Linked DNA regions of Homo sapiens: all the other regions are linked to region 1. The links are contacts of gene promoters, found by promoter capture Hi-C in blood cells and fetal thymus (Javierre and others, 2016). All regions are on one chromosome and are shown on one strand. The core of a region is centred on a gene start or on the middle of the fragment in contact, and the rest is flanking DNA. Distances in the headings are between cores, read along the strand shown.

Evidence for each region. Contacts are between HindIII fragments. The CHiCAGO score rates a contact against its expected background, and 5 or more counts as called.
Region 2: a contact is called between a fragment that was not itself captured here and the fragment with the promoter of PRECSIT in region 1, in 1 of 17 cell types (endothelial precursors). The highest score is 5.6, in endothelial precursors.
Region 3: a fragment that was not itself captured here is called in contact with the fragment with the promoter of PRECSIT in region 1 in 1 of 17 cell types (endothelial precursors); the score reaches 5.3 in endothelial precursors.
Region 4: a fragment that was not itself captured here is called in contact with the fragment with the promoter of PRECSIT in region 1 in 1 of 17 cell types (naive B cells); the score reaches 8.6 in naive B cells.

Annotation. Positions count from the first base shown.
Region 1 is chr13:110,867,519-110,872,184 of GRCh38, reverse strand. PRECSIT (p53 regulated carcinoma associated Stat3 activating long intergenic non-protein coding transcript) reads left to right here and starts at 1,877. Exons shown (of 1, transcript NR_027701.1): 1 at 1,877-4,666. RefSeq lists enhancers at 1,577-2,776, 2,134-2,820. The HindIII fragment of the contact is 3,703 bases long and covers 1-2,656 here.
Region 2 is chr13:111,151,611-111,155,947 of GRCh38, reverse strand. ARHGEF7 (Rho guanine nucleotide exchange factor 7) reads right to left here. Exons shown (of 22, transcript NM_001354046.2): 2 at 1,957-2,043. LOC101060553 (a long non-coding RNA gene) reads left to right here and starts at 2,371. Exons shown (of 2, transcript NR_120398.1): 1 at 2,371-4,337. RefSeq lists a silencer at 1,881-2,240. The HindIII fragment of the contact is 3,914 bases long and covers 1-3,425 here.
Region 3 is chr13:110,545,772-110,550,044 of GRCh38, reverse strand. All of the region lies in intron 1 of RAB20 (RAB20, member RAS oncogene family), which reads left to right. Among named protein-coding and RNA genes, the nearest start is that of RAB20, 14 kb to the left of the region's middle. The HindIII fragment of the contact is 1,914 bases long and covers 827-2,740 here.
Region 4 is chr13:110,448,476-110,453,154 of GRCh38, reverse strand. It overlaps COL4A2 (collagen type IV alpha 2 chain), which reads right to left. Exons shown (of 48, transcript NM_001846.4): 19 at 3,366-3,476; 20 at 2,701-2,850. Among named protein-coding and RNA genes, the nearest start is that of COL4A2-AS2, 12 kb to the left of the region's middle. RefSeq lists an enhancer at 4,001-4,679. The HindIII fragment of the contact is 2,164 bases long and covers 1,887-4,050 here.

The sequences.
Region 1 (4,666 bases), core at 628-3,127:
GTGCTCACCCCCCGCAGGGAGAGGCGGGAGGGACGGGGAAGGGCAGAGGACACATCAGGTTTTTCATCTTACTGCGTTTTTTTTAAAACAGGAAGATCTGAAGCCAACTACATTCAGCAAGTTTTCTTAAGAACAAAGTAAGAAAGATAAACCAGAACAGCCCTGCTTGGCTTATCCCGGCCTCGCCTTAACCCTCCCTTCCCTGCCGTCTTTCTGTGGCTCCCCTCTGCCAGGTGCCCCCTGAACTTTAAGATTCCAGGATGGTTTGAGAACAACTTCGATGTTTCTGTTTTCCCATTTATGAAGGCTACTGTGCTCTCACCAGTGAATTTAATTACAAGATTTTTAGAAGCAGCTAAAAAAATTGCAACTCAGATGCATCAGTGAATCAGTCCTATTCCCTGTCTGCTAAAGGATGTCTTTTCGTTACCATCATCTGCCGCAGGGCTTTTCTGACAGTTCATATAATTCAAGATAATTGAAGCCAATTTTGCAAGCAAAACGACAGGAACCACTACATGAAATAGCACATCAAGTCTCTGATTCACAACAATGGCACTATTTCCTCAATGGTTTTAAAATTCTCTTGGCTAGGCGTAGTGGCTCACGCCTGTAATCCCAGCACTTTGGGAGGCCGGGGCGGGCAGGTTGTTTGAGCTCAGGGGTTCAAGACCAGCCTGGGCAACAACGTGAGACCCTGTCTCTACAAAAAATACAAAAATTAGCTGGGCTTGGTGGCGCATGCCTGTAGTCCCAGCTACTTGGGAGACTGAGGTGTATCAATTGAGAAAAATGACAAGACAAGTCTCAATCATTTTAGGAGGTTTACTCGCCAAAGTTAAGGACGAACACTCGGGAGACAGTCTGTACCTTTCTCCGAAGATGATTTTGAGGGCTCCAAATTTAAAGGGGAAAGGGTGAGATAATGACAAGTACACAATTTTCATCTAAGAGGCGGGTAGAGAAAAATAGTCATGCGTTTGGCTCATTGAATCTGCATTATTTTTACACAAGATGACTTAGACAAAGGGGGCAGGGGAACAATCAGGTTTGCATTTGTGTCTGGCGGGCAGGGGTTGACTGCACCTGTAAAGATGAGCTATCGATTTGCATTGCTGTGGTGAAATCTTAACAGAAACACCTTACAGTAAAGATTGCGGAGCTCACTAGGAATTTCCTTGTGGACAAAATATAGGGGAGGTGTGCAGTTTTTCATCTTGCAGCATCTTATTTAGGGACCAAAAGGGGAGGCAGGTTTGCATGACCCAGTTCCCAGCTTGACTTTTCCCTTTGGCTTGAGTTTGGGGGCCCAAGATTTATTTTCCCTTCACAGGTGGGACGATGGGTTGCAGGGAGGATGGGAGCCTGGGAGGCAGGGTTGCAGGGAGCCAAGATCATGCCACTGCACTCCAGCCTAGGTGACAGAGTGAGATCCTGTCTCAAACAAAACAAAACAAAACAAAACCTCTCTCTGGAAGAGAAAGGAGGGACTGTGAAAACAACCGAGGGAACAGGCAGCTTTCATTACCAGCAGCATGGGATCCTCGCCCAAGGCCGAGAAAACACAGGAGTGAAATGACAGCTATAGAGGTACACTCCGCAGGCTGCATGAAAAGGACAAAAACAGTAATATACACACCAGTAAGGAACGGCATTGGCATGCTCCGCCTCCTGTGGGCAGCCTGGGGATGAGGTCATTTTCCAAAACAGGGAGCTGGTCAGCATTTTCCATGCCCAGGGCAAGTTCCCCTTGATGGACAGCACCTAATGACCAGCGCTGAGTCAGTCTAGGAGCAGAAAGACTGGAAACCCTGGAGTAGGGGCCACGTCAGCATGACTCACTCAAGCAACGGCAAATTCTCACAGCAACAACATGAAACGCCCTCCAGGGTGATGACTGTGGGAGCAAAACTGACCGGAACCTGGGCGGTGCATGCACTGTGCACCCTCCTGGTTAACAGCCCCACGGCCCGAGAGCTGTGCTTTACATGAATGTCTTCTGTTAAAGCAGCTCGTGTGGCTTCTGCACCCTGGTGGAGCCAACACACGTGCCTGTCACGGAGGTGAGGAGTGAGTGAGTTCTCACCAGCATTTGACGCTGACCTTCCGGAGACATGGCGTCCCTGAGAGCCTGCAGCCTGCCAGAGCAGAGAGCCACCCGCTGGCCGTTCTGTTGGAATTTCGGAGTTCCTGTCTTTCAGGCAACATCTGCCAAGCGCGGTTTGTGTAAGGAAACCCATTCTGTCGTGTCTGCCGGGGCCCAGGGCGGCTGCTGTGCGGGAACCAGCTTTTGTGGCCCATGGAGCAACGACTCAGTCTGGGGCTCGGCTACTCTCCGGCCCGGGGTACTGGCATTTCCCTGGGGCCCATGGGGCGAGTGCCCCTATTTTTCCCATGAGGCCTCAGCCAAGAGGAGGTTCGGGAAGAAAGGAAAACACAGGTGAGGAGAGAGAAGGGCGGGCAGAGAGGTACCACGCCATTAGTGCTGATGGGGAGAGGCGGCTCCAGCCCGGCACTGCTGTCCTTACGAGGCATGTTTCCTTTTTATTCGGAGGAAGAGAAGCAGAGGAACACGTCATGGAGACGGACCGAGTTGAAGGAGCCAGGGATGGTGACAAGCGGAAGGAAGTGTGTTTTGTCCCCATCCAGGGAAGCTTTTGTTTCATGAGACTTACTTGCGCACGTCTGGTAGCTGCCCTGGACATTCATGGACTTTCGTTTTCACTCAGATTTTGTGGTTCACGTGACACAAAGCATGAGGACATCACTGGGCGAGAGGGCCAGGTCACCCCACTGCCGAGGGGCACGCCCCAGCTGTGCACCGCTAGAGTGGGCTTGTCCAGTCCTCGGACACGGGGACAGGGTGTGCCCATCTCATGTAAGACATGAATAATAGTAGAAATTTCTGTTGCATGAGAACTCTCTGCATTATCCTCACCATTTTCCTGTAAGCGTAAAACGTCTAAAACTTTTTTATGAGCACACTAATTCCTCACTTAAGGTCGTCATTAGGTTCTTGGAAATGGCAACTTTAAACAAAAGGACAGACAGCAGGTCCTCAAATAACATTCTTTCCTTCAACATCATTTCATCCTAAGGAGAAAAAAATGGATTTTGTTACATATCCTGGTTCATTTCCAAGAACCAGGTGGGCATAGAATTGACCAAAGGTGGAGGAGAACAGATGTGCGGCTCCGTCCTGGCTGTGTGGCTCCGTCCTGTGGACTAATGCGTGTGGACAGTCAGGAACACTTTCAGGACAATGTGGGTGGCCTGCCAATGGGACCTATTCCAGAGGTCTGAGAAGAAACCGTTGTTTAACCTAGAATCCTGCTAGGAATCAAACTAGCTTTGACAGGAAAAGGAAAAAGAATGAGGACTCTGAACAGGGACAGACTCAGAACAATTCTTATCCACTCATAGTTTAGGAAATAATCTTACAGCATGTGCTCCACCAGGGTCACCAACTGTCCCAATTTGCTTGGGACTGAAGGTTTGTTTGTTTTTGTTTCTTTGTTTTGAGACAGAGCGTCTCTCTCTGTTACCCAGGCTAGAGTGCAATGGCGTGATTTTAGCTCACTACAACCTCCACTTTCCAGGTTCAAGCAATTCTCCTGTCTCAGCCTCCCTGAGTGGCAGGGATTACAGGAACCCACCACCATGCTGGCTAATTTTTCAATATTTAGTAGAGATGGGGTTTCACCATGTTGGCCAGGCTGGTCTCGAACTCCTGACCTCAAGTGATCCACTTGCCTCAGCTCCCAAAGTGCTGGGATTACAGGCATGAGCCACCGTGCCCAGCCTACTGAGGGGTTTTTATGGACATGGGACTTTTAATGCTAACACTAGGACAGTCTCTGTCAGACTGAGATGATGGTCACTCTTTGGCCAAACACCTCCACCACTGCCCCGCAACATCCATAATAGCAACAGTTTGAGTAAAGACACAAGTACCATTTGCGGTCCAAATACTTGAGTGTGTAAACGGTGCATTGGGTGTGCACAGCGGTACCCAGAATCTCCAACTAGCTCCTCATGAGCTGGGTGGGGCATGCAGGGAAGGAGGCAAAGCTTCCCACCTGTCTGGGGAGGCTGTGGGCTCCACCTCTGCAGACTTTGGTAGGAGACCAGTGTTCATGCAGTTGTAGTAATGCACGTGTAGCTTAGGGTTTTTTTGGGACTAAACTATGGACAAAGCACAGAACTCAGTTGTCTCTGTAGAAAAGGGTGGCCTGTCACCCGGTACCAGGTGAGGGGAGTGTGGCAGTGGCAAGAGCACCTGGTGGTGGCCGAGAGGAGGCACGGAGGAGAGTCAGGGTACCGTGCCCTCATGGAGTGAGTGCGGAAGACAAAACAACAGACACAGTTGTAATGACATTACTTTATTTGGGGTTAAATTAGGGTGCACATCACAGAAAATCCTCAAACCACAGGGAATGAAATGGAAGTTGTTTCTCTCTGGTAAAACAAGTCTGAAAGCTGCAGTGTCATCAGATCCACGGCCCTGCATCTCTGCCACACCCCACCATGCACCTCCAGTCCTCCCGGCCTGTGGCTTCCAGGGCTCCAGGAACTAGGGAGGGACAGACACTGGGATCTTCTGCCATGAAGCAGAGAGGGATGCTGGGGAAACACATGGGCACTCGCTGCCACAAGTGCCTCCTGG
Region 2 (4,337 bases), core at 219-2,718, 280 kb before region 1:
ACGCCGGGCTAATTTTTGTTTTTGGGTTTGTTTAAGTATAGACAGGGTTTCACCATGTTGGCCAGGCTGGTCTCGAACTCCCGACCTCATGTGATCCACCCGCCTCGGCCTCCCAAAGTGCTGGGATTACAGGCGTGAGCCACCACACCCAGCCTCAATTTACTTTAAAACAAAACTTTTTTAAAAAGTTTTACACTAAAGTCAGATAATCTTAATGTGCCAATTGAGTTTCAAAAGTATGTTAACGTAAACAAAACTCAGTAGTTTCAAGAGGATAATATAATAAAATCCCTCACAAAGGTGAAGAAAAAGTAAAACCTGCCACTAGCAAGGCATATTATCACAGCCAATAAGGCAGCTGGATTACAAATGACAAAGCTGATACGACAAAGGGTATCAGGGAAAGACTACTGAAACACTGTCTTTTTCCCCTTTGAAAAGGCCCTAAGTTTCTTGGAATCTCCCCTAGCACTTTCACTTACGTGTAATAATTTCCTTGCCAACATGAAATACTACCAACAATAAATTTCTTTGTGTTTACAATCATAAACAACGCCAGTAATACTTTAATCTATGAATTCCTACATGTCTAATTCAATTAAATAAACTTTCCATGTAACCTGCCCTCACAGATTTGATGTTCTAGGTTTTCCGAGAAACCTATAGCAAAATATTCTTCGGGAAGGGAAACCTCTGTTGGGTTATCCTACATAACAGGTTCTACAAAGATGCTTTCATATACAGTTGTCCCTTTTTATCAGCAGGGAATTGGTTCCAGGATCCCGGTGGATACCAAAACCCTCAGATGCTCAAGTCTTTTATATAAAATGGCATAGTCCCGTAAACATTAAATCATCTCTAGGTTTCATACACTACCTAGTACATTATAAATGATATGTAAATAATCATTATACTGTGTTGTTTTTTATTGTTTTTTTTTAATTGGTTTCCCCCTCCTCCAGTATTTCCAATCCAAGGTTGGCTGAATACACGGGTGGGTAACCTTGGATACGGAGGGCCGACTGTACTCTTATCTGGGAGCTTGATATTGCCCATCTCAGTTTACAGATAAGAAAACTAAGGTTAAGAGTGACAAAGTGGCAACATAAACGGCAGGACTTAAGTACAGGACTGACTGCAACCACTTAAGCAGATCCCAAGAAAAGCAAAGCTAGATTTCTGTATTTAAAGTGCTACCCCAAGTGTAGGAAGAATCGCAATAGCAAAATAAAATGAAAGAGTTAAATTCCCAGAAACTGCCACTGAAAGACTGAAAAGACAATGTTTAGTAAAGTGACACAACATTTTACAACAGGGAATCGAGACCCCGCCCAGTATGTTCCCCGACAGCATGTTTTATAAACGTCACATACTGGTTAATGTGAATTCTCTGGACATTAAGTGTTGAGGGTACGGAAAAACCACCGAATTTCTGGTCTCAGGAAGAAAAAGCAGAGAAAGGAGTGCGGCTGGGAGAAGCAGGCGGAGGGCTGGCCCATTTTATTTCTGCACGACTTTGCCTGATCACCTGCTGAGGATTCTAAGGCCTGACCCAGACCTAGATGCCAGCCCTTAGATGACAATCTCTAAAAGCAGAGTTCATGCTGAGGCAGGTGCCAAGAAATCGGTTCACACCCCTGATAAACGGTTGTTGAAAATGTGTGTCACCTGCACCACCAGCGACCAGAACCACTCTTCCTCACTGGAACGAGAGCAATGTCTGGGGTTCCACACGCAGACTCCACCCTGCCCTGGGGGTGGCCCGCGCGCCGCCACCTCCCGGCCATTACCCAAACCCGCAACGCCCCGTTCCACACATCCCGGACTCTCGAGCAGCCGGGGAGGGTCGGATCCGGGCGCGGAGGAGGCAGGAGGTCCGGCTGGAGCGAAGCACCCACCCCGGGCCCAACCCCGTCTTCCCGGCCCCTCCCTCGGCCCGTGGCCGCCCGCGCTCACCTCCAGCCGCAGGGAAGCCCCGCAGCCGCGCAGGAACTCGCGGATGTTGCTCAGGCACTCGCTCTCGCTCCGGGGCTCGGGGTAGACCTGCAATACAGAGCACAAGCGCTGAGCGCCGTGGCCGGCAGCGGGGACGCCGCGGACAAGGCCGAGCGACGCCCACGGCCCGCGCTCCCAACACAGCGGGCGACGCTGGCGAGCGGCCCCCGACGGCCTGGAGCGAGCCCGCTGCCCCAGATGCCAACCCGCTCAGCCGCTGCTTCTCCTCACCCTTTTTTCTTCCTCCGGGGCTGCACCAATCTCTGCCCCTTCCCGCACCAGGAAGTGAGCCCCGGCGCCGGAAGTGACGTCCTCAGACCGCGCCCCCGCCGGCCCGCGCGGGACGTCTTCGGATAGCGTCGGGTGTTCGCCCCCGCGGACGCAGCCCACCCTGCTTTGCCGGCGAGCTGCCACCTCCTCTGGCCCAGTGCTGGGCCTCGGTCCGGTAGAGGGAGCCCACCGGTTGGCCCCGCGCGCGGCCACCGCCGCCTCCTCCTGTCCAGTCTTCGGTCTCTACCCTAGCCCCGCGGACGCAGCCGACAAGGCCCGGCTCCGCGCTCGGCCTCCTCCCTGCTCCAGGTCCTTGGCCTGGCCCCGCAGACACAGCGCACCCGCTCGGCCCCTAGCGCAGACACCGCCGCCTCTTGGCGCCAGGTCCTCGGCCTCTCCCAAGTGGACGCAGCCTGGCCCAGAGGGGCCCCAGAGAACTCGGGCGGCTTGAGTAACCCCTGATCGTTGGGAGAGAACCTGGGATTTTTTCCCTTCTTTCTAGCCTAGGCTCATGGAGAGCGCAGTTACTATTCTAATGCAATGACTTAAAATAATTAAGCAACATAAATTATGCATGTTGGGATTAAGGTGCAATGTTTTCCCAAATATAAGCCACGCGCTTCATGAATGATTAACCGAAATAGTTAACATGAAAACCAGTAAGTCAGCTGAGAAGAAATTGTGGATCCACCGCAGTGGAGGAGCGCAGGAAGGCGCCTACAGACTCCCTAGTGCTTTAGTCCAAGGTAGAATTGTGAGGGCCACCAGCAACACATGTAAGGTGTTTGGACCTTACCCACGGCAAGAAACTAAGGAAACCAGAAACAGTACCAATTACTAGAAAATTTTAAGAAGCCTGAGGCATACGAAAAACTTTATTTTGTTTTTTGCTCTAAGGATTATTTTAACTGTAAGAAAACTTATGTTCCAAATTACATGTGAAGACATTAAGCGTTGACATTTAAACTAATGCGTCATCTAGAACTCTAGCATTTGAGGACATTAAAGGCATTTTTGTCCTTCTGTACTGTAGGAGAAAATCACGACATTTCACCAGGCTACTCAGGAATACTGTGGTTTCATTTTATGGTGCTCAGGTGTTTTAAAATTATACATCAAAACCAAGTGTTCAGCAATGCCAAAAGGGATGAAATGAAGCTTTTTTCTTTCTATAGTTGAAAAATTCCTTCAAGCAAGTGCTGACATGTTTCCATCGAAACTGTACATTTTTTCAGTGGAATGGCAAAAGCAAAGCTGCTTCCTAATCCGTTTTGCTCTTTAAAATAATTTTCAAAAATTATCACATATCTAGGTAATACCTAATTTTTTTCTTCATAGTTTTAAATAGTTGTAAAGGATGTAATTTCTGACATTCTGATGACATTTTTAAATTAAACCATTGCATCCTTTATAAAAAATATATCCAATAGAATCTAAGTGTAATAGAAACATAATACCCATTTCTCCATCTAAAAAGTTTCTGAACAAGTCAGACATTAATTCTTTCTCCTTTAATTCATTCCACTTCACCCAAAAAGTTGTATCCTCATATAGTCTATTTTTATGCTTGAAACACACTCTTTTTTGGCAAGTAACCTCTACAAATACAGTCAATCATCATTCAAAGAGTCTGTATTTATGAACTCAGCTACTTGGCTAAAAATTATGTGTAACCCAAAAATCAATACTTGAAGCACTCTCAGTCATATATGGACACAAGCAGAACAGTGAAAAATTTGGATCACCTTATGTACACGTTCCCAGCTGTGCTTGAATAAGGCCATGCTCTGCCTTTTTTTTTTAGTTCTCATTCTGTAAACATATGTCCTCTTCTCACTCTACTTAGTGTCACATTTTTCAAATTTCTATGCTTTCCGATGGTGATTTCTGTTTCAAATGGCCCCCAAACGTAGTGCTGAAATGCTGTCTAATGTCCCTAAGCGCAAGAAGGCTGTGATGTGTCTTAACAGAGAAAATACATGTGTTAGATAAGCTTTGTTCGGGCATGAGTTATAGTGCTGTTGGCCATGAGTTCAATGTTAATGAATCAACAATACAGTGCATTCACATCT
Region 3 (4,273 bases), core at 534-3,033, 320 kb after region 1:
ATGTCAAAATGTGATTGGAAAGGCCGGGTGTGGTGGCTCAGGCCTGTCATCCCAGCAGTGTGGGAGGCCGAGGAGGGTAGATCACTTGAGGGCAGAAGTTCAAGACCAGCCCGGCCAACATGGCGAGACTCTGTCTCTACTAAAAATACAAAAATTAGCTGCGCTTGGTGGCGCGTGCCTGTAGTCCCAGCTACTCAGGAAGCTAAGGCAAGAGGGTCGTTCGAACCCAGGAGGCGGCAGAGGTTGCAGTGAGCTGAGATTGTGCCACTGCACTCCAGCCCGGGCAACAGAGCAAGACTCCATCTCAATTAAAAAAAAAAAAAATTTAAAAAAGTGTGATTGGATAAAAAGGGTGCAGTCTAAGCCCAGCAAGGCCTGTCTGTTCAGATTCCCCAGGCCTCTCTGCAGCATTCCTTCCTCTAGGGTATGGGGCAGGACCCTCTCTGGAAGGAGGGTCTAATGACCCACAATCAGATTAGAGTCCGGCCTGGGCCAGGTGAAAGGAGGACAGGAGAAGGTCAGAGAGAAAGATTTTGTTCCTGAGGCCTAAGGCACCCAACATTATAACAATAGATTGTAACAATGGCTGTAAGAATCATGAGCTAGGAACCGTGGATGAAAAGACACAGTGGTGAGTTCCCTGGATTCCAGATTCAGGGCTGAAGAAGCTAGAAATTCGGAAATGCCAAAGGGCACAGGCAAAATGAATCTGCATTCAAGAATTCAGCTTTTGTCTGAAATATTCCTTCCTGCTTAACCCAAGCTGATACAAATCAACACACTTAACTTTTAGTAGCTTATATTCTAACACAGACCAAGCTAAGCTTGTAGCTCCAAGCAAAGCATTTTGTAAATATTTGCTGATTTGTTTTGTGGACTCACAAGATGTTGATGGCAACGGATGTCTTTCCTCCCTCTGGCCTAACCGCTCTCCGCACACTGGTCTTAAGCCTCTGAAATAGCTCAGCTACCTACTGCTAGGGTTCTGCAAGGAAGTCAGGGTAGTGTCCTATGAAAAACTGGCCTGGGAAGTTTGGAATCATCACACACATGTTCAGGCCTCTGGGTTCTGTAGGGACCCAGCCCTTACCTGGCTGGAGCCCTGGGCTGTGAGAGCAGCAGGCATTTATCATGCTTCTGGGTGCCAGACATCACACTCAGTGCCTTCTGGCATTGTCCATTGTTCCGGCATCCACTTTGTGTGCTTGGTGTTATCCTCACCTCTCGGTGCAGATGAGGAAGCTGAGGCCCAGAGAGCCTAGGGAGCTTGCCACAGGTTGCACTCCAGGTTGGGGAGTGCAGATTTGAGGTGGGTTTTTGTCAAAGTCCACCCTTCCTGGCACTGAGCTGGTTAAGAGGCTACGATGGAGCCTGGACCCCTCACATTGGAGCAGTGCCCACCGACAGACCCCGCATAAAAAAGGAACAGAACAGACCTAACCAAGAAATCAGGTGAGCCCACCGCGCTCCCCTGGTGCCTTCATGAGGATGGAGGCAGGTGAGACTGAATTGTGGACATTTCCAGAATGACAAGAGTTTTTTTTTGTTTTTATTTTTGTTTTTGAGACAGTTTCATTCTCTTGCCCAGGCTGGAGTACAGTGGTGTGATCTCGGCTCACTGCAACCTCCACCTCCCAGCTTCAAGCAATTCTCCTGCCTCAGCCTCCCGAGAAGCTGGGACTACAGGTGCACACCACCACACCTGGCTAATTTTTGTATTTTTTGTAGAATTGGGGTTTCACCATGTTGGCCAGGCTGGTCTCGAACTCATGACCTCAAGTGATCTGCCCACCTGGGCCTCCCAAAGTGCTGGAATGACAGGTGTGAGCCACCGTGCCCGGCCGAATTATGGTGTTTTCTAATCCATAAAAGAAAAATTGTTGGATCAAAAAGATGTAGCATTCTAACTGAAGTTGCCTTGAGGATAACAGTGTCTTTTATTTTTGTAGTCTGTTGACCAGGTTTCCTATTTGTATTTTGGAAATTCTCAATTTTATTACTAAGAGCCTTGACGGCATAAGGAGTTGCTCTGGTGGTAGCTTCACAGTTATAGAATACCTGCTATGGGAAACTTTTTGCTCCAGGTTATATCTGAAATGCTTACCTATATTTTAAAGTAAGTGTTTAGATACAAAGAATAAATGGGACGGCCTATTTGCAATACTGTTGTGTAGGCTGATTAGCATTAGCTTGTGGGGTCATGCAGGCTTCCCAAGACTGAGGTTCCAGTCTACAGACTTTGGCCTTATAGCTTTGGCCTTAAATTATAGCCGATGCTTCCACAACACTTAATATGTGCCAGAGGCTCTGCAAAACGCTTCCCCATTTTAGCTCCTTTAATCCTCTCTGGCACCGTAGCAGGTAGCAAGGTTATTTTCCAGGAGTGGTGGAGTGGGGATCTGATCTGGGCAGACCTGTCCGAGGATTTATGCACTTAATCTCACCAGCCTGCTGTGTCCTTCGTAGAAGTGACTTGGATCCTAAAGTGAGAGTGGAACTGGAAAGGAATTGCTCCAAGTATGCATTCACTCACACAAGGTAATAAATGTACATCGGGCTACGTTCTATTTCGTGCATGGGGTGCCTGTGAACTAGAAAAGTCCTGCTGCACCCAACGATAGTAAATGAAAAACAGTTTCAACCTGTGGCCTGTCTCATCACTAACGAGATCAATGTGTTAAGATTCCTGTTAACGCTTTCCCCGTGTAGAATTAAGCGCACTTCATTCACATAGGAAGCTTGTTGCGCCTCGTGTCTGAGCTGCGCTTTCTCATTTATGCAGAGCCAGCTGATTCAGTGTGTTTGGGGCAGGGGTCCGTTCCCTTCCCTGACCTTGGCTGCTCTAGTTCAGGACAGTCTGGTTAGAGGAGGCGCCGTGTAGACCGCTGTGATTTGGCGCAACAGTCAGCTTCCTGGCCTTGACTGGCGGCATTCCAGGCTTCTGACATATGAGTCCTTGAGAAGGAGGAACACTTTCTATTGTTTGTGGTACAGAAGTTCAGCTTGGCCAGGCGTGGTGACTCACGCCTGTAATCCCAGCACTTCGGGAGACTCAGACGGGAGGATCCCTTGAAGTCAGAAGATAGGTACCAGCCAAGGCAACATAGCGAGACCCTGTCTCTACTAAGAATTGAAAAAAAATTGCCAGGCATGGTGGTGCACACCTGTAGGTTCAGCTACTGGGGAGGCTGAGGTGGGAGGATCACTTGAGTCTGGGAGTTTGAAGCTGCAGTGAGCTGTGACTGCACCACTGCACTCCAGCCTGGGCAACAGAGTGAGACCCTGTCTCAAAAACAAACAAACAAACAAACAAACAAACAAAAAACCCAAAAAACAAAAAAAAACAGAAGTTCAGCTTGTACTGTTCACAGATGCTCCAGGTCAGTTAAGATTTGTGAGCCTGGGTGTCACCCAGCACCATGCCATGACACACGCTTAGTGGCCCTGTCACACAGACCAAGGGTGGCCTGCAGAGCCGCTGAGTGCATCAATAAAAAATGAGGCATTTCTACTTAGAAATGGAAGACTCATGTGTGACTGTGCTTCCTTGTGGGTTGGAACTGCCTTTCGGGACGCTACCATCTCATGGCATAACTTGAAATGACTTATGTTGCCCAAATAGGTGAATTTAGGGTTGTACCTTTCCCTCACAGCTGTATTTGGGATCAGCAGGTTTTCTTTTTAGATGAATCAATTGGAACACTTTTAGAAAACAAAATGAAGATATGATCCTGTCTCTGAGTCTCAGTGATGTCTTCTTAAAACTGTAGTAATAAACCTTATTTCCAGGGACAGTTATGAAGCTTAAATAAGATGACAGATGTGCAGGGAGCCCAGCATGGTTCTCGACTCTCAGTAATGCAATGTCATCTTCTTTCTCCTGGCACATCATAGGTTCCCTTAGCTTTTGTAAAGGGTGATAAGGATTAAATGGCTGAGGCTTTTTTTTTGGTGCCTATCTCATGGGGTTTCTCTGCTATGTGAAGGAATCACTTTCAGAATTATGGATTGGAATGGCTCTGGTTGGACATTGACTTTTCATCTGCTTTGCTGTATGCTTGGTCCTGGCTTCTGGGTGAAGACTACAGGATCCACGGTGTTTCTGTGGAGTCAGATCATGAAACAGGAATGTAGAGCTCAGAAGTAAATGCAGCATTTTCCCCCACAGCAAGGCTCTAGTCATTAATTGCTTAATAATAGAGAACGAAGGACTGTAAAGAGGTCCTTAACATTACAGGGCATATTTTACAGACTCCTATTGTGCCCTTTTTAT
Region 4 (4,679 bases), core at 1,719-4,218, 420 kb after region 1:
ACTCAAAAGATACCATTTGCTTAGGAAATATAATGCTCATAGAAACCTAGCTCTTATCACAGCAGTCCAGGATAATGAAAAAAATTAAAGGCCAGGTGTGGTGATTCATACCTGTAATCCCAGCACTCTGGGAGGCCGAGGTGGGCAGATCACCTGAGCTCAGGAGTTCAAGACCAGCCTGGGCAACATAGTGAAACCCCCGTCTCTACCAAAATTACAAAATTAGCCAGGCATGGTGGTGGTGCATGCCTGTAATCCCAGCTGCTCAAGAGGCTGAGGTGGGAAGATCGCTTGATCCCACGAGGTGGAGGTTGCAGTGAGCAGAGATCATACCACTGCACTCCAGCCTGGGATACAGAGCGAGACCCTGTCTCAAAATAAAATAAAATAAAATAAAAAAATAAAGTTCACACTGCTCAGACTCTTTGGCAGGTTCATGATCCAGGGAAATATCTGCACCTAAAAATTTTCAGAATAATGTGAGAATATGTGGGTTTTCTAATTGAAGAAAAATTGAGAAAGTAGAAAGCATATTAAGTTAAAATTTTACTTTATAATATAAAACAGACACAGAGAAGTGACTACTACCTTTTAAATAGAAGACATTGCCTCTAATAACTCTAATGATTTTCCTTCTAGATATGTCAAAGAGAAGTAATCTTCCAAAAACAAACAATTAAAACAGAGACTTTGGGCCGGGCGCGTTGGCTCATGCCTGTAATCCCAGCACTTTGGGAGACCGAGGCGGGCGGATCATGAGGTCAGGAGATCGAGACCATCCTGGATAACATGGTGAAACCCCGTCTCTATTAAAAATACAAAAAATTAGCCGGGCGTGAGGGCGGGCGCCTGTGGTCCCAGCTGCGCGGTGGCGGGCGCCTGGGTCCCAGCTACTCGGGAGGCTGAGGCAGGAGAATGGAACGAACCCGGGAGGCGGAGCGTGCAGTGAGCCGAGGTCATGCCACTGCACTCCAGCCTGGGTGACAGGCGAGACTCCGTCTCAAAACAAACAAACAAACAAACAAACAAACAAAACAGAGACTTTGACCTGTTACTGAAACCAAACACTGTCCACTAGCAAACATGGTGTTTTTCCTCCCCGAAGGTAGGAGGCTGTAAGAGATTATTAGGGGCAATGTCAGGGAATTTAAAGTAAACTACTTTGGAAAGAAGAGGCTGTTAACTTTTGGTCAACGTCACACAGAAAGAGACTATGACCTCTTATTTTCTCCCAATGTCTCCTATATTCACTCTTGTGAGAGAATGAAATATTCCTATTAGGCATTTCACAACATCGAAAGCAGGAGTGTCCAATTTTTTGCCTTCTCTGGGCCACATTGGAAGAAGAATTGTCTTGGGCCACACATAAAATACACTAACACTAATGTTAGCTGGTGATACGGTTAGGTTTTGTGTCCCCACTGAAATCTCATCTTGAGTTGTAGTTCCCATAATCCCCAGATGTCATGGTGGGGACCTGGTTCACAGGAGGTAATGGAATCATGGAGGCAGTTTCCACCATGCTGTTCTCACGATAGTGAGTGAGTTTCTCATGAGATCTGATAGTTTTATAAGGGGCTTTTCCCCTCTTCACTCCTTACTTCTCCTTCCTGATGCCACGAAGAAGGACATGTTTGCTTCCCCTTCTGCCATGATTGTAAATTTCCCGAGGCCTCCCAAGCCCTGCAGAACTGTGAGTCAATTAAACCTCTTTCCTTTAATAAGTTACCCAGTCTTGGGTATGTTCTTATAGCAGCGTGAGAACGAACTAATACAGCTGATTAGCTACAAAAAATTGTAAAAATGTTTTTAAAAAGCTTATGAATTTTGTTGGGCTGTATTTGAAGCCGTCCTGGGCCGCATGTGGCCCGTGGGTTGGACAAGCTTGGTCTTTAAAGCATAACTCTCTGAATGCTGAAGCTGAAAGAACAGCCTTTTCTGACAGCAAGCTCCAGGCGGGACTGCATGTTTCCCTGCTGCCTGAGACAGGTCATTCTCAACTCAAGTTGAGTCACCTAACGTTATAACCTGAAAGAGCATCTTTGCTGACTCAGGGATGCACTACTGGGTGGCAGGTGGGTCCACACTCCTGTGCCTGCCGGCTTTATTGACTTTCATGGGCATTTGTCTGGGCCTTGGGGGACGGCTGTCACTTATTTTTGCAGATAATGCAGCCATCTCTTTTTGTCACCAGCTACTCTCACCTGTTCAGTTGTAGCTTTGGCTGTGCACGGGCTGAGAAGGCAGATTATCAAGGTGGCTTAAACGTGATGGAGTAACACAGGAGAGAGGCTGCCAGTCAAGGGTGAGCCCTCACCCTGGATTAGGTTTGTGGAATGTATCACCCCGACACAGAGGCAGCAATGTCAGCTCACATCTGTTTCCAGACTGCGCAGCTCAGATGTTTCGCTGAAGGATGGATTTCACCGAAGCTGCAGCAACTAAACCTCACTGTGTGGCATCCACGGGGCTGTGATACTCACAGGCTTACAGGGCTTCAGCTTCCATCCCCAGCTCCTGCGTGGACCCCAGAGAGCACCCACTACACCCTAATCTACCTGGATCCACTGCACCCTAATCACTGGCCTACTGGATTCGTTCCCAGAGTCATTTAGCAGAGAATCCCAAATAACATCCGGCTGGGACCGGGCTTCATCTGAACATTAGGCTACACCCTCCCTTTTGTTTCCCTCCACTCACCATCAGGTCCAGGTGGTCCAGGGAGCCCGGGGGGTCCTGGAGGCCCTCGCTTTCCATCAGGTCCAGGTGGGCCCCCGTAGAGCGCAGGGATGCCGGGGTCTCCGATGAAGCCCTTGGGTCCCATCTCACCCGGCAGGCCTCTCCTCTGATCTGAAACCAAACAGCATTCACCTGCAGCGTGAGTCTCCCATACCACACCGCTGCCTTTGTGTTCGTGTCCAGAGGGGCCCACTGGGGCACTAGCGGGCTTCATGGCCCCGTCAATAACTCCGATGGGTAGAAGCCATTGGTATAGTTCATTATCCTTTTTCAACATTAAAAACACCCCTCTCCTTGCCCCTCAAATAATGGCTTGATAGTTGTGATCAACACTGGGCAACAACACCTGATGATTCTCCGTTCTCTTCCCAACCCACAGGTGGAAGCATGCCAGTTACCCATCGTGGCACCATCTAACCTAGTTGGGGAGTTACTGTCATATGTGCGAGGGTTCTGTGAAGGTGTCCAAAGCATGTGTGCGGGGCTCCTTAGAGCTGCTAAGACTAGTCAGTGGGGAAAAGTAACAACGACATAGCTACGTCGTCAACGAAGTCTCCCTTGTGTGTGCTAGGACCTGAGTGCAGGTGCTTTGGGTCTCCGGTGTTGATATTATGAAGCCACATTACCTCCATCTCCGATGGAGAGGCCAGGGGGACCTGGGAGGCCCGGGTCTCCTGGCTCACCCTGGCTTCCTGGCTCCCCTTGGGCCCCTGGGAATCCCGGGTCACCTCTGGCACCTGGAAGGGAAACAAGTCCCACAGTAAGAACAAGACCGTGGTCTACGGATCGCAGCTGGCGTTCACTTTTTCATTGACTACATATTTACCAAATGCTCCATATGCTGTATGCGGCCTGATGAGGAGTTAAGATGATTAATACATGGGGTGGTCTCTCTTTTTAAGGGGCTCATTCTCCAGCAGGGGAACAGGATTAGTGAAAACCGGGTGAGGAAGTAGGTGAGTCCAAAGCTCGAATAAAGAAGGAACTAATGTGGTTGCCAATTCTGCTGGTGGCCTGGGAGCGAGGAGGCCTCACTTCCCTGCACCCCACTCTGCCCCTCAGCCCCAGCTTTAACCCTATTAGGCTCTTCTCATCCCTGTCTGCTGGATGCATAACAAAATTTGGCTTTTAAAAACTTTCACCCCTGAACAAACAAAGACAAAGTGGCATGGCTATGTTCCTTTGCTGTGTAAATAGCAACGCTTTACTGTAGAACACACTTTTTTCTAGACTATAATTGGGAAAGATGAGAAGAATGAGAAGAAAATAGGACTTTTTATCATGTAGGCATTAGGAATTTCTAGGAAAGCTTTCACTCTGCATGTCGTCTTACGAAGTTCCTTAAAATAAGGAGAGGGCTTTGCTGGGCGTCACACTGAAGTCCCACGTGCAAGGGACAGAAGGCCTGACTTCCGTGTATGGCGTCTCCTGCTCGGGCAGCTTCGTGCCGAGTGTGCAGGGGGCTGCGCTCCGCAGCCAGAGGCCCTGGGCCTGAACCTGGCTCCTCCACTTAAAGGCAACCCTGGGCAAGGAACTCAACGCCCTGCGCTTCCATCTCTCCCTCAGTAAAAGCAGCCAAGTCCATCTCCACCTCACAGGGTCACCCAGAGGGGTAAACACACTGAAAAGTACAACTAGGACAACTTGGAGCATCGCCTGGCACACAGTGTGACCTACACTCCTGTTAGCCATTGTTGATTCCATAAAAAGACACAAAATTGAAAGCCACAGACCTTCTCACTTGTTTGGAAGAATAGCAAGATTACTTTTATTTCTAGGTACCTTGGAATCATTTCTTTTAATACAAACCCCTCTATCCTTTTTGTCTTTTGACAAGTTCATGCAATGTTACCTTGAAAAAGATACATTTACTGCCTCTTTTCCCTGAGGGAATCTGCTGGTTAGTCAACCTTTGACTTTAAGAAACCCTGGAATGCAAG